4 separate regions of the Homo sapiens genome follow, and all the other regions are linked to region 3. Evidence: promoter capture Hi-C in 16 types of primary human blood cells and fetal thymus (Javierre and others, 2016). All regions are on one chromosome and are shown on one strand. Each heading gives the region's core, a stretch centred on a gene start or on the middle of the fragment in contact. The rest is flanking DNA. Distances are from core to core; before and after follow the strand shown.

Region 1 (2,831 bases), core at 40-2,539, 320 kb before region 3:
GATAAAGTCATCTTGTATTATAGAAATTTTAAGTGACTAGCTTGTCAATAAAGTTTCAGCATGTAAGTTTCTTCCCAAGTGTAAATCTTGACTTTGAAGTTCCACTCTTTCTGAAACCCTGTGACAAAGAGAAAAAGACAGTGGGCTGCAAACTGGGAGGCTTGAATTCTACTTCTGGCTTGCTCACAGATTAATTTTTTAACCTTTAAGATAAAGTAAGCCAATTGTATTATTGTTATCCCTGTATATGACTTAATTCCAATGATTCATAAGCTTCCTTAAGGCAAGGACAAAGTTTTACCGAAGTTTTATCTTTGTACTCCTCACTATGGCTTAGTAAATACTGCATAAGTACATAGCTTCAGTTCTCTCATCTGTAAAAATGAGGGGATTGTACTGTCTTAATTCCTTTTAGCTCTCAAATATTTTGGACATAGAGGTCAGTGAAAAATTAGCCCCATCTTTGGAGAGGAATTGAGGATCAGGAAAATATAAATGTGAGTGCCGCAGTTGCTAAAAGTAAAAGGCTGTCCCCAACTTTTTTTTTTTTTTTTAATGGAGAGATAGACCAAGATCCTGGTCTATCCAGAAATTAGCCTTTCTATTCTGGTGTATCATGTGTATTCTAAAGTGTTTCACATCTTTCCTTTCTTTATCACCAAGGTTACTGCTATACCAAGCCTTCCAAATAATTTCAGAACTGACCTTGAGTGGGAGGAGGCAGAGTACCTTTGTGGTTTTACTCTGACGTTTATAAATACAGTGCCCACATAAAAGAAACTTTTCATTAGTATTGAATGAATTTTATATTATTTCCAAAGTAGAAAATTTATAGTCTTATTTTTTTAACTTTCATATTTTAGAGTAGCCTTATAGGTTCTCTTTCTTTGACATACATCTCTGAGATCCCACCTTAAGTGAATAACTGTTTTTTCTTTGCTTTTTTTTTTTTTTTTTTTTTTTTTTTGAGACTGAGACTAGCTCTGTTGCCCAGGCTGGAGTGCAGTGGCGCGATCTCGGCTTACTGCAACCTCCGCCTCCCAGGTTCCAGTGATTCTCCTGCCTCAGCCTCCCAAGTAGCTGGGTCTACAGGCGCATGCCACCATGCCCAGCTAATTTTTTGTATTTTTATTAGAGACGGAGTTTCACCGTTTCAGCCAGGATGGTCTCGATCTCCTGACCTTGTGATCCGCCTGCCTCGGCCTCCCAAAGTGCTGGGATTACAGGCGTGAGCCACCGCCCCCGGCCCTTGAATAACATTTTAAAATGTTTACACACAACCTCAGGTTTAAATAGAATTACTTTTAAAGTAAGTCTGTTATTAGCAATATCTTTATATTTATTGAATTTATTATTATAAATTTCTTTCTCATGACAGATTTTTTTAAGCATGGTTGAATAAATCGTCTTTACTGAAAGAATTGTAATATAAAGCGAATTGCTTGATTTTTTTTCCATTTAATTGTGAATTGGATACTTTCATGATTTTTAAATTATAAAGTGCCCATATTAAAGTATATATTAAATGTAATTATGGGGGAAAATGCCAAAAGTAAAAACAAAAAGCTCAAATAATACAAAGAGAAATATGTAGTGAAAAATGTACTTCTGCTTCTCAGAGTCAGTTATTATTAATAATGTATTGTGGATGTTTACAAAAACATTAATGCAAATGTAAGCATATATAAACATGATTACTTAGACTTATATATCCATGTCCTTTAAAAAAATTATTTTGCTATTCCTGTCAGTGACCTAGTTCACAGTAGTTGTTCAATAAATATTTAAATTACCCAATACTCTTTTATTAGTCGACAGCTGGTCCGTTTTTCTGATGCATTTGGTTCTTAAAGTGCCATGTAGTTTTCAAGGATCTGAGACTAAGTTTTTCAATTATAGTAAAAACATTTTTCAGCAGTACTAAAATATTAAATGTAAATATAAATAAAACTACTTTTGTATGTGATTTAAAACATCAATCTGCACGACTGTGTATAATAGGTTTAGTTCTCAGACTTGATAAAACTTATGAACAGGTTTTACCAGTTTACCAACTATGATGAAAGTACCTGATTATTTGTTTCTGAGTTATAAAGTGAATTGTTAAGAAGTTACACAATAGGCATCCTGGTATTTGAAGAAATGCTCTGTAGTTAAAATACTTCATATTAGAATATGGTAGATTCTTAATAAAAGAGGCTAATTTTCCCAAACTCTTCTTGTATATTAGGACATTTGGAAAACAAAAGGCATTTGCTTCTCCTGGAAAAGAATTGTGGCTTAATCTAAAGAAGCACATTTACCTTGAAGCTTTAATATAACCTGTTACTAGTCTTAAAATCCAAAGTACATATAGGGTAGTCCAGTCAAAGTTAAAATTACTTTCTTCCATAAATAATTTTTCTTTCTGACAAGATGGAGTAGATTTTAATGAATTGAGAGATTGTTTTTCTTTTGTGACATCATATTTATTATATTAAAAGATATCAGAGCTTTTTTTTCCTGGAGAATATGAAGTTGTTGGCTTGGAACTAGAAAAAATTAGAAAATATATTTTTCAACGGCCATGATAATGCCAAGTTGAAAATTAAAGTGTGTGTTTGCTTTCCCCCAAGAGTCTCCCTGTTGAATAAATGAGTTCTTTAAAACTTTTAGAGAAATAATAATGGTGTTATTGAAGAATAATGTCTCATGACCAAAGTAGCTCTAATCTAGGCTTGTATATATGATTTAAAATATTAGAAGGAAGATGAAAAAGACTTAGTAAACTAATAACAGATGGATACCTAATAAGAAATATTTATCTGAAATTAACAGCCAACACCATACCT
Region 2 (2,747 bases), core at 206-2,705, 270 kb before region 3:
TAACCTGAGTAAACTTGGATATCGGGGATCTATCTAGCCGCCTACCTCCAGTTTGTTGCCCAGTAGATTATTATATAATTTTTTTTCTTAATTTTAGGCATCCAATACATTAATGAATTATGTCACCTTTTCATATGGGAATATGAGAACAAATATACTCCTTTTCCAGTCAAAGAAAGATTTATATTCTATGAAGAAGACATATGGGAACAAAACCCAGTATGTGTCATTTTTTTTGTTATTTTTGGTTATGGTTCAGTGTAGTCATCACAATAGCAAAACCCCATCATTTTGCATTTGCAAACAGAGGAATGGATTGAAGTCTGCTTACTTTATAAATAAAAGCATATTTCTAGCAAGGGTTCTGGTCAAATCATTGATTAACTTCCTTCCTCATCCCTTAGGTTGAAGAAAGAAGACTGGCACATATTATAGACCGTATCTATAAGATCCAGAAGCTGAGTTTTCCAAGTTTAAAAATATTCTACTCTTGCTAGGGAAAGGTCCTGGTTTCTCCTGTTACTCTAAGGAAGGCCTACTCTTAGGCAAGCCCATAATCTCTAGATACCTTGCCAAATTTTCATCTTGGTTTTCCCTTTTTTCTTTAACAGATGACCCCTGTAACCTCATATTTAGGTTCTCCCTCACTCCCTCATTCCCGATCCAGGTATAGTCAAACAGGGATTCCCAGAAGTGGAAAAGGAAGAAGCTTTATTGCATTCTTAACAGGATTTGTGGTGAAATGTAATTCTCTTTTGAAGGAAGGGAGGGTATGCTGTTTATGCTTGATTTATTTATTTTTTTTGCTCTAGATTAATCACAAATACCCAGAAAGACGACTGCTTGTGGCAGAATCCTGTGGAGCACTGGCACCTTACCTTCCTGTAAGATTGTCTTTTTTTTTTTCTTTAAACTATTTTTCCAATAATAGAAAAACCTTTTTTTGAGTGTCTTATAGATTTTAATCCAAATGTCTCCTAGATGTGCTGTCTTAATAAAGAAAAGAGATGATCCAAAAAAGAGACTCACATTAGTACAGTATGGCATTGCAGACACATAGGTACATTACCACTGATTTTGGATGAGTATAAATATATTAAACTATATCAGCAGTTCTCATAGTGTGGTCTGAGGACCCTGGGGGTTTCCTTGAGATCCTTCCAAAAAGGTCCATGAGGAGAAAACTGTTTTCATAATAATAAGACACTTTTTGTCTCTTTCACTGTGTTGAAATTTGTATTGTTGGTGCAAAAGCAGGGATGGGCAAAAATGCTGCTGCATTAGCACTAATCAGGGCAGTGGCACCCAAATGTACTATTATAATAATGATTGTATTCTTTACTGCCATGCTTTTGCAGAAAAAGCCAATTTCACCTAAAAAGGAGCTTGCTGAATCAGTAAAATTATTTATTTTACTAAATTTTGACCTGTGAAGCATGCATCTTTTTAATATTCTGTGAGACAAAATAGAAAGTACTCATATAAAAACCCTTTGCTGCATACTGAAAAATTATAGCCATTTGCAGGAAAAGCACTTAGGCAGTTGTTTGAGTTATGAGCTCAACTAGCTGCTTTTTTTTTAATGGGACACCAATTTTACTTCACAGAAACACTTACAGTCAAACTGGTTTTTCAGACTTGGGTATGTGGCAGACATTTTCATGAAATTGGATGGAGTGAGAATGTCACTTCAAGGAAACCAAGTAGACAGCATTCATTGCCAGTGGATTTATACTCCTACTAACAGTACCTTGGAGTTTTTATTTTCCCATACCTTCACCAGGAACTAGGCACGGTGAAATTTTTTTAATGTTTTTCTAGTGGAAGAAAATGCCTTATTGTTGTGATAAATCATACAGATTGATGCAAATGGTTTTGAGCATCTTATTATTTATTGTTCCAAGACAGATGAGCATCCCTTGCTCTCAAAGGATAAATAGGCTGTTCTACTCTGATCCTAGAATACTAAGCAGTATTAATAATAGATACAATGTTTCCTCAGCGGATCTATGTTTGCCTTCTGCGTACCCCATTGTCACTGATAGCAGCAAAATGTCTCTACATTGGCAGTTTCTCAGTGTGTTCATGACTTAAATAGAGTAATGCCTCCTGACCAATGCTCTGGTGGGGTCCCTGTGGCATACTAAAACTGATTGCCACAGTTGACCCTTGCCTAAATCAGCATAAAGCAAATGCCCACTTGAAGCTTATTTTCCTCTGTCATATTGCCTTGTGTGGATACCAACCAACAAGTCCCTTTAAATAGTTTAAGATATTTTAGGGCAATTTTTAGCCTAAAAAGTAAATAAATGAGGCTGTACCAAAAGATGTTATATATTCACCAACCTAAATGTGTTTTAAGATATGCTAAAATTGCATGTATTTTTGTTTCTAAAAAGTGAAAACCAGACTTTTTAAAAATGTCTCTCAAGCCTTGCTCTACATACCAAATCATGCTGTAAATTTATGCAAATAGCCATGTCATCTGCCTTTATTTTTATTTTATCGTAGTTATTGTATGTAAAAAGGACCTAAACAAGTTTATGTTTTAAGAATTTTATAAATTGCAATATTAGTACAAGTAGGAGAGGAGGAGCATGAATTTGTATATTGGTAGCTCTTTATCCTAACCTCAGCCATGAAGCTAAAACACTCTTTATCATAACTGGAAAATATTCTGTGTGAAATCAAGGCACAGCAGTGGGTGTACATTATATTAACTATTAGCATAAAAAAGAGCAATGCAA
Region 3 (2,806 bases), core at 20-2,519:
TGAGCCTCTTAGGACATAAACTTGTGAGGTGAACAGAGTTCAGCATATGCTCTCCCAACAGATGTTCCAGCACCACCGCAAAGAGTTACAATGTGATTCTTATCTTTCTGCATACTCCTACTACATAGCTGTAGTAGGACTTCTAAATTTAAAGTCTTAAGATTTTTTTTAACCCACCTTTTAATTAACCCTCAAAAGATCCAGCTGAGTTTTAAAAATTTGGACTATGTTGCTAAAAAAAAAAAAAAAAAAAAAAAAAAGTAACAGTGCGAGTGTAAACATCTTGGAAGCCTAAATCTGAAAAACGTAACAAAACTTTTTTTTTTTAAGTTTAAAGCCTGTCAAGTTGGTAGCTTATTAAATTCCTCCAGTCACATGAAATTCACAGCAGAACAAGGATTCAAAATGGGTTAGGCACCGAAATGTCATTTAGCAAATCAATGATTCCCAAAAGATAGAGGTTTAGGGGCGGGGAAGGGAGAGGCTTTTCCTAAACTATCCAGGAAATAATTTTCACAGAGCGTTACAGACTAGGAGCGTCCCCAGCAGCGCTCACCCTCGGCCGGCCGGGTCCCGCTGCGCACCTCCCGGCCGCGCGTCCCCACCTGCGCACGGTGCCTCCAGCCTGGGCGTGGGCGCGGCCCGGGATCGCGGCGCCGGGGCCGCAAACCGGGGCCGCAAACCAGCGCCGCCACCCGCGTCCGGACCCAGTCCCCTGTGAGCGACACCTGGCAAAGTTTCACAAGGTGGGAGACAGCCCACCGCCGGCTTTCAGGAAGTGCACTGGGCGGTGAGGACTCGAACGAGCTCGTCCCGGGGCTGGCGCACTCACTTCGGAGAAACCCCTGCTCCCGGGACGCGTTCACTCCGGCCGCGCAGGCAGCCCGGGCACCACTGGCGGAGGCGGGGCGGCAGCTGGCAAGCAGAGGAGAATCAGGAGTCCAAAGCCGGGCCAGGGCCCTCAGGAAAGGTGAGAGCGGCCGCGTCCCTCCGCTCACGTGGGCCTCGCACGCTCCTCACCGCTCCCGGGCTACCCTCACGCCGCCCCACGGCCCCAGCCCGCGTCCTCCTCCTGCCGAGCACCAGCCTTTAGGACCGCACGGAAGCCGCCGAGAGGGAGGCGGCCGGCCAGCAGTTGGGCGTGGCTTCCTGGAGAAAGGCGGCCCCCCAGGGGGCGGGGAGAGCGACGTCACCGTCGATTCGCGGTGCTGATTGGCGGAGGTGAGGTGCGCGGAGCCCGCAAGCTTCTCCGCCCGGCCCGGCTGCTCCACCTCCTCACCCAGCCGCTCCGTCCTCACCGGCTCGCGAGGGAACAGCTCAGGCACCGCCGCCCCGGCTCAGCGCGGACGGCGGAGAGAGGGAGGCGGAAGGAGGACACCCTCGCTCGCTTGCTCCCACCCGCACCCGGGCTCCCAGAACCGGCGAGGAGCCCAGGGGGAGGAGCCGTCGCGGGCACGCCCCGCCCCCAGCCCGGGAAGACGACGCCAGCGACCCCGCCGGCCGGCCACCGCCCCCCTCGCCGGCCGAGACCCGCCCCCGGCCCCGGCCCTCCCCCGGCGGCATGGAGGGGCCCCGCTCCTGACGGCCGCGCCGCCGCCTCGGCCCGTGCTCCACCTCGCGGCCCCTCCCGCCCGCCCCCGCTCGCATGTCTGCGCCGCCCTAGCCGAGGATGCTGAGGATGAAGCTGCCGCTGAAGCCAACGCACCCCGCGGAGCCGCCGCCCGAGGCGGAGGAGCCCGAGGCGGACGCGCGGCCGGGCGCGAAGGCGCCTTCGCGCCGCCGCCGCGACTGCCGCCCCCCGCCGCCGCCGCCGCCGCCCGCGGGCCCGTCGCGGGGCCCTCTGCCGCCGCCGCCGCCGCCCCGGGGACTCGGGCCGCCTGTTGCTGGTGGAGCGGCGGCGGGGGCGGGTATGCCGGGCGGCGGCGGGGGGCCCTCGGCGGCGCTGCGCGAGCAGGAGCGGGTATACGAGTGGTTCGGGCTGGTGCTGGGCTCGGCGCAGCGCCTGGAGTTCATGTGCGGGCTGCTGGACCTGTGCAACCCGCTGGAGCTGCGCTTCCTTGGCTCGTGCCTGGAGGACCTGGCGCGCAAGGACTACCACTACCTGCGCGACTCGGAGGCCAAGGCCAACGGCCTCTCGGACCCGGGGCCGCTGGCCGACTTCCGAGAGCCCGCGGTGCGCTCGCGCCTCATCGTCTACCTGGCGCTGCTGGGCTCGGAGAACCGGGAGGCCGCTGGCCGTCTGCACCGCCTGCTACCCCAGGTGGACTCGGTGCTCAAAAGCCTGCGCGCGGCCCGGGGCGAGGGCTCGCGGGGCGGCGCGGAGGACGAGCGCGGCGAGGACGGCGACGGCGAGCAGGACGCCGAGAAGGACGGCTCAGGCCCGGAAGGCGGCATTGTGGAGCCCCGGGTCGGCGGCGGGCTTGGCTCCAGGGCCCAGGAGGAACTGCTGCTGCTCTTCACCATGGCCTCGCTGCACCCGGCTTTCTCCTTCCACCAGCGGGTCACCCTGAGGGAACACTTGGAGAGGCTCCGCGCCGCGCTCCGCGGGGGCCCCGAGGACGCGGAGGTGGAGGTAGAGCCGTGCAAGTTTGCCGGCCCCAGGGCCCAGGTAAGGCGCACGGAGCCTCCCTGGACTCGCGGTGCGATCGCTGCCCCGGCGGCCTCCCCGGCCTCGCTCTCGGACGCCCCTTGCCCGAGCCCCAGCCCGGCGCAGGTGGCTCGGAATCCCCACCCGGCAGCTCCCAGCGCCAGAGGGCTGAGCTTCGTCTCGCTGGGCCGCTCCGTTCCACTCCCCCACCCCACCCCA
Region 4 (3,161 bases), core at 43-2,542, 460 kb after region 3:
TAAGTATTAGGGAGAAGGGCATTCCCGCCTGCTCTATTCCCTGCTTCCTGCTGGAAATCCAGATAATTGGGAAAGGGCTTTGAGGGGAGAGAAAGGAAGAAATGAAACGGGAAGCGGAGAGCTGTGGTGAGCCTTGCTAGGAGAAGAACCCCTGATCGAGGACCCTAGAAACTGTTTGGTGTTGGATCCAGCGCATGCTGCCCGCCCTGTGCTGCCCTCAAGCTTCCTGCCCTTCGCTCCTGCTCCCGAGCACTGGCTTTGATGAGAGGTAGCAGAGCCGATCTCTGGGACCCAGAAACCCCACCTGCCTGCCTTGGTTTCTCTTGATTGCTTTTGTCACAGCACCACCTGCTGGTAAGCTTAGACTTTGGGTGGAAATGGGCTTCACTCTTTATCCTTCCTTCACTTTCCCAGAAGAAACAAAGTGTTTAAGTTTCTTATCACTGTATTTTCGTAAACACATGATAGCAAACTCCTATACCACTGTCAAGTATAGCCGAGAAGCTGTGTTTCCGCTTTGTAAGACAGTAGAAGTGATGACAGCTGGTTCCTGTGATGAGCCTGATTTTCCATGGGAAATTGACATGCAGAAATATTAAGATGGATAACCAGAATCATATAGTTTTGCTGGGAGAGAAGTCTGTCTTCAATGTCCATCTAATTCCCAATTCCCCTTTCCATGGTTAAAAAAAGCAAAACACAAAGCATCTGTTAACATGTTCTGGACCTTATAGGATAACACCTGAGAGTCCCCTCACCACTGGCACTGCAGGGGAGAGAAGAAGAATTCCATTTGATCATGTGAACATTCATCAAAGGGTATTTTGAGTTCATCCCTGACATGTTATCACAAGATAGAATTTCAGGCCGGGCACGGGGGCTCATGCCTATAATCCCAGCACTTAGGGAGGCCAAGGCGGGTGGATCACTTGAGGTCAGGAGTTCGAGACCAGCCTGGCCAACATACTGAAATCTCGTCTCTACTAAAAATACAAAAATTAGCCAGGTGTAGTGGTGCATGCCTGTAATCCCAGCTACTCGGGAGGCTGAGGCAGGAGAATCGCTTGAACACAGGAGTCGGAGGTTACAATGAGCCGAGATTACGCCACTGCATTCCAGCCTGGAATGCAGAGACTGGAACAGCCTGGCGACAGAGACTCTGTCTCAAAAAAAATTTTTTTTTCTTTTATTATCATACTTTAAGTTCTAGGGTACATGTGCACAACGTGCAGGTTTGTTACATATATATACATGTGCCATGTTGGTGTGCTGCACCCATTAACTCGTCATTTACATTAGGTATATCTCCTAATGCTATCCCTCCCCGCTCCCCCACGCCACAACAGGCCCCGGTGTGTGATGTTCCCCACCCTATGTCCAAGTGTTCTTATTGTTCAATTCCCACCTATGAGTGAGAACATGCGGTGTTTGGTTTTCTGGCCTTGTGATAGTTTGCTGAGAATGATGATTTCTAGCTTCATCCATGTCCCTGCAAAGGACATGAACTCATCCTAAAAAAAGATAGAATTTCTATAAAGTGTGGGTTTCTGGTATCTGCCTTACCTACCTCTCCAGCAATCAAATTAGGTCATGTATTTGCAGTAATTTAAATACTAAAGCCTTATGTAAGTGTAAATATTGTCATTGTTACAAATGAAGGAACTAAGGGGCGTCTGAAAGAAAATAATGAGGAATGCAGCAAAAGCACCTTTTTAAGCCAGGTATGGTACTGTGGGCCTGAAGTTAGTCCCAGCAACTTGGGAGGCTGAGGCTAGAGGATCACTTGAGCCAACGAGTTCAAGGCCAGCCTGGGCAACACAGCAAGCCCCTGACTCTTAAAAAAAAAAAAAAAAGAAAGAAAAAAGTACCTTTTTGAAAATGGGAAACTCTTAAGTCACTTATTACAATTGTTATAGAAGGAAAAGCACTGGTAATGATGGAGAAAATGGGCTTCTCTCATTTGTTGCCATTTCATTTTTCTTTCATTGCATCCCCCTAACTCACACTGTGCAAACTAGTCTATGGAAACTCTTATCTCACTATTGTCATTTATCTGTCATGAACTGATTCTTATTGCTATGTATTTGAAAGACGGCTCTAAGGTGGTTTTTTTTTTCCCCTAAGCCTCACCCCACTCAGCACCAAAATTACAACAAAGTTCCAACTTAGTACGGCGAGTCTATTGCCCTGCTCACTAAGTGAATGTAGGAATTACATCTAGCAGACAAAGCTTTGGGCTGGTGATGGAAAGCACACCCCACCGCTCACACCCTCCTGCTTCACTGTGTGCATTCATTCAACGTGTTTAGGAAACACCAGTAAAGAGCTGGCTACTTTGCATGGCTCTGCCTCACCAGCACGGGGCCCTGAGAAAATGGCTTGGTGTGGAGGTGGCTGTGCTAACCTCATGAGGGTGTGAGCCAGCCTGACGATGGCCTACGGGCCCACATGAATGGCAGAAGCCAGTGTGGAGGCCCCATATATTGTCCTGTTCCTTCTGGAAGACTAAGGTTGAACACTGCCGAGGAAATTGGCAGATGGGTCCTCAAGGCAGCCGTCCATTTTCTGGGGTGTGTGGTAGAAAGCTGGAGGCTATGCTGTCCCCAGCCCTGATGTGAGTACCCATAAACAATCATGGCATTTCTCCAGCTTCGGTTCATGAGTCCCTTCATTTTATGCCCAATCAGAAACACAGTGTTCTTCTATCCTGTGCAGAGGGGGAAGCAACAGAACACTTGGAGAATTTTCTTCCATCTGCTCATGACTGGAATTGCTCTCATTGTCATTCCTCCGCTTTTCTAAGGACAGGGAAGGAAAACTGCCTTCACTGAAATCACAGGTACTTTCTAGTCATTCAGTTTCTTAGGTCTTATTCCATTCTGGTAAGCTGGCACTTTCCCCTAATTACCAATCTTACCTATTGAGAGAAAGTTGAAATGGCAACAAAGATGGTTTTCCCAAATGCTACACCTCCAGATGTTGACTTTTCTTGAACTCATAAATAAGTGATTTGCTCTTCTGAATTTTCAAGAAAACTGCTCCACAATTAACATTCAAAGTTTCTTAAACTAGTTTTCACTTAATAGAAATTGCCTTGTAAGCCACGAATAAATCAAGCACACAAAATAAATGTATTTTATTTGCCTTATGATCTGTAATAC

Evidence for each region. Contacts are between HindIII fragments. The CHiCAGO score rates a contact against its expected background, and 5 or more counts as called.
Region 1: a contact is called between a fragment that was not itself captured here and the fragment with the promoter of ZCCHC2 in region 3, in 1 of 17 cell types (megakaryocytes). The highest score is 5.2, in megakaryocytes.
Region 2: a fragment that was not itself captured here is called in contact with the fragment with the promoter of ZCCHC2 in region 3 in 1 of 17 cell types (megakaryocytes); the score reaches 8.3 in megakaryocytes.
Region 4: a contact is called between a fragment that was not itself captured here and the fragment with the promoter of ZCCHC2 in region 3, in 5 of 17 cell types (fetal thymus, endothelial precursors, naive CD8 T cells and 2 more). The highest score is 8.2, in fetal thymus.

Annotation. Positions count from the first base shown.
Region 1 is chr18:62,200,025-62,202,855 of GRCh38, forward strand. All of the region lies in intron 1 of RELCH (RAB11 binding and LisH domain, coiled-coil and HEAT repeat containing), which reads left to right. Among named protein-coding and RNA genes, the nearest start is that of RELCH, 14 kb to the left of the region's middle. The HindIII fragment of the contact is 2,037 bases long and covers 272-2,308 here.
Region 2 is chr18:62,254,595-62,257,341 of GRCh38, forward strand. It overlaps RELCH (RAB11 binding and LisH domain, coiled-coil and HEAT repeat containing), which reads left to right. Exons shown (of 29, transcript NM_001346231.2): 13 at 813-884. Among named protein-coding and RNA genes, the nearest start is that of RELCH, 69 kb to the left of the region's middle. The HindIII fragment of the contact is 1,497 bases long and covers 708-2,204 here.
Region 3 is chr18:62,521,756-62,524,561 of GRCh38, forward strand. ZCCHC2 (zinc finger CCHC-type containing 2) reads left to right here and starts at 1,270. Exons shown (of 14, transcript NM_017742.6): 1 at 1,270-2,608. The coding sequence starts at 1,670. RefSeq lists silencers at 524-633, 864-1,133, 1,164-1,663, 2,554-2,793 and an enhancer at 1,979-2,552. The HindIII fragment of the contact is 5,111 bases long and covers 1,243-2,806 here.
Region 4 is chr18:62,982,504-62,985,664 of GRCh38, forward strand. No RefSeq gene overlaps it. Among named protein-coding and RNA genes, the nearest start is that of PHLPP1, 270 kb to the left of the region's middle. The HindIII fragment of the contact is 1,871 bases long and covers 358-2,228 here.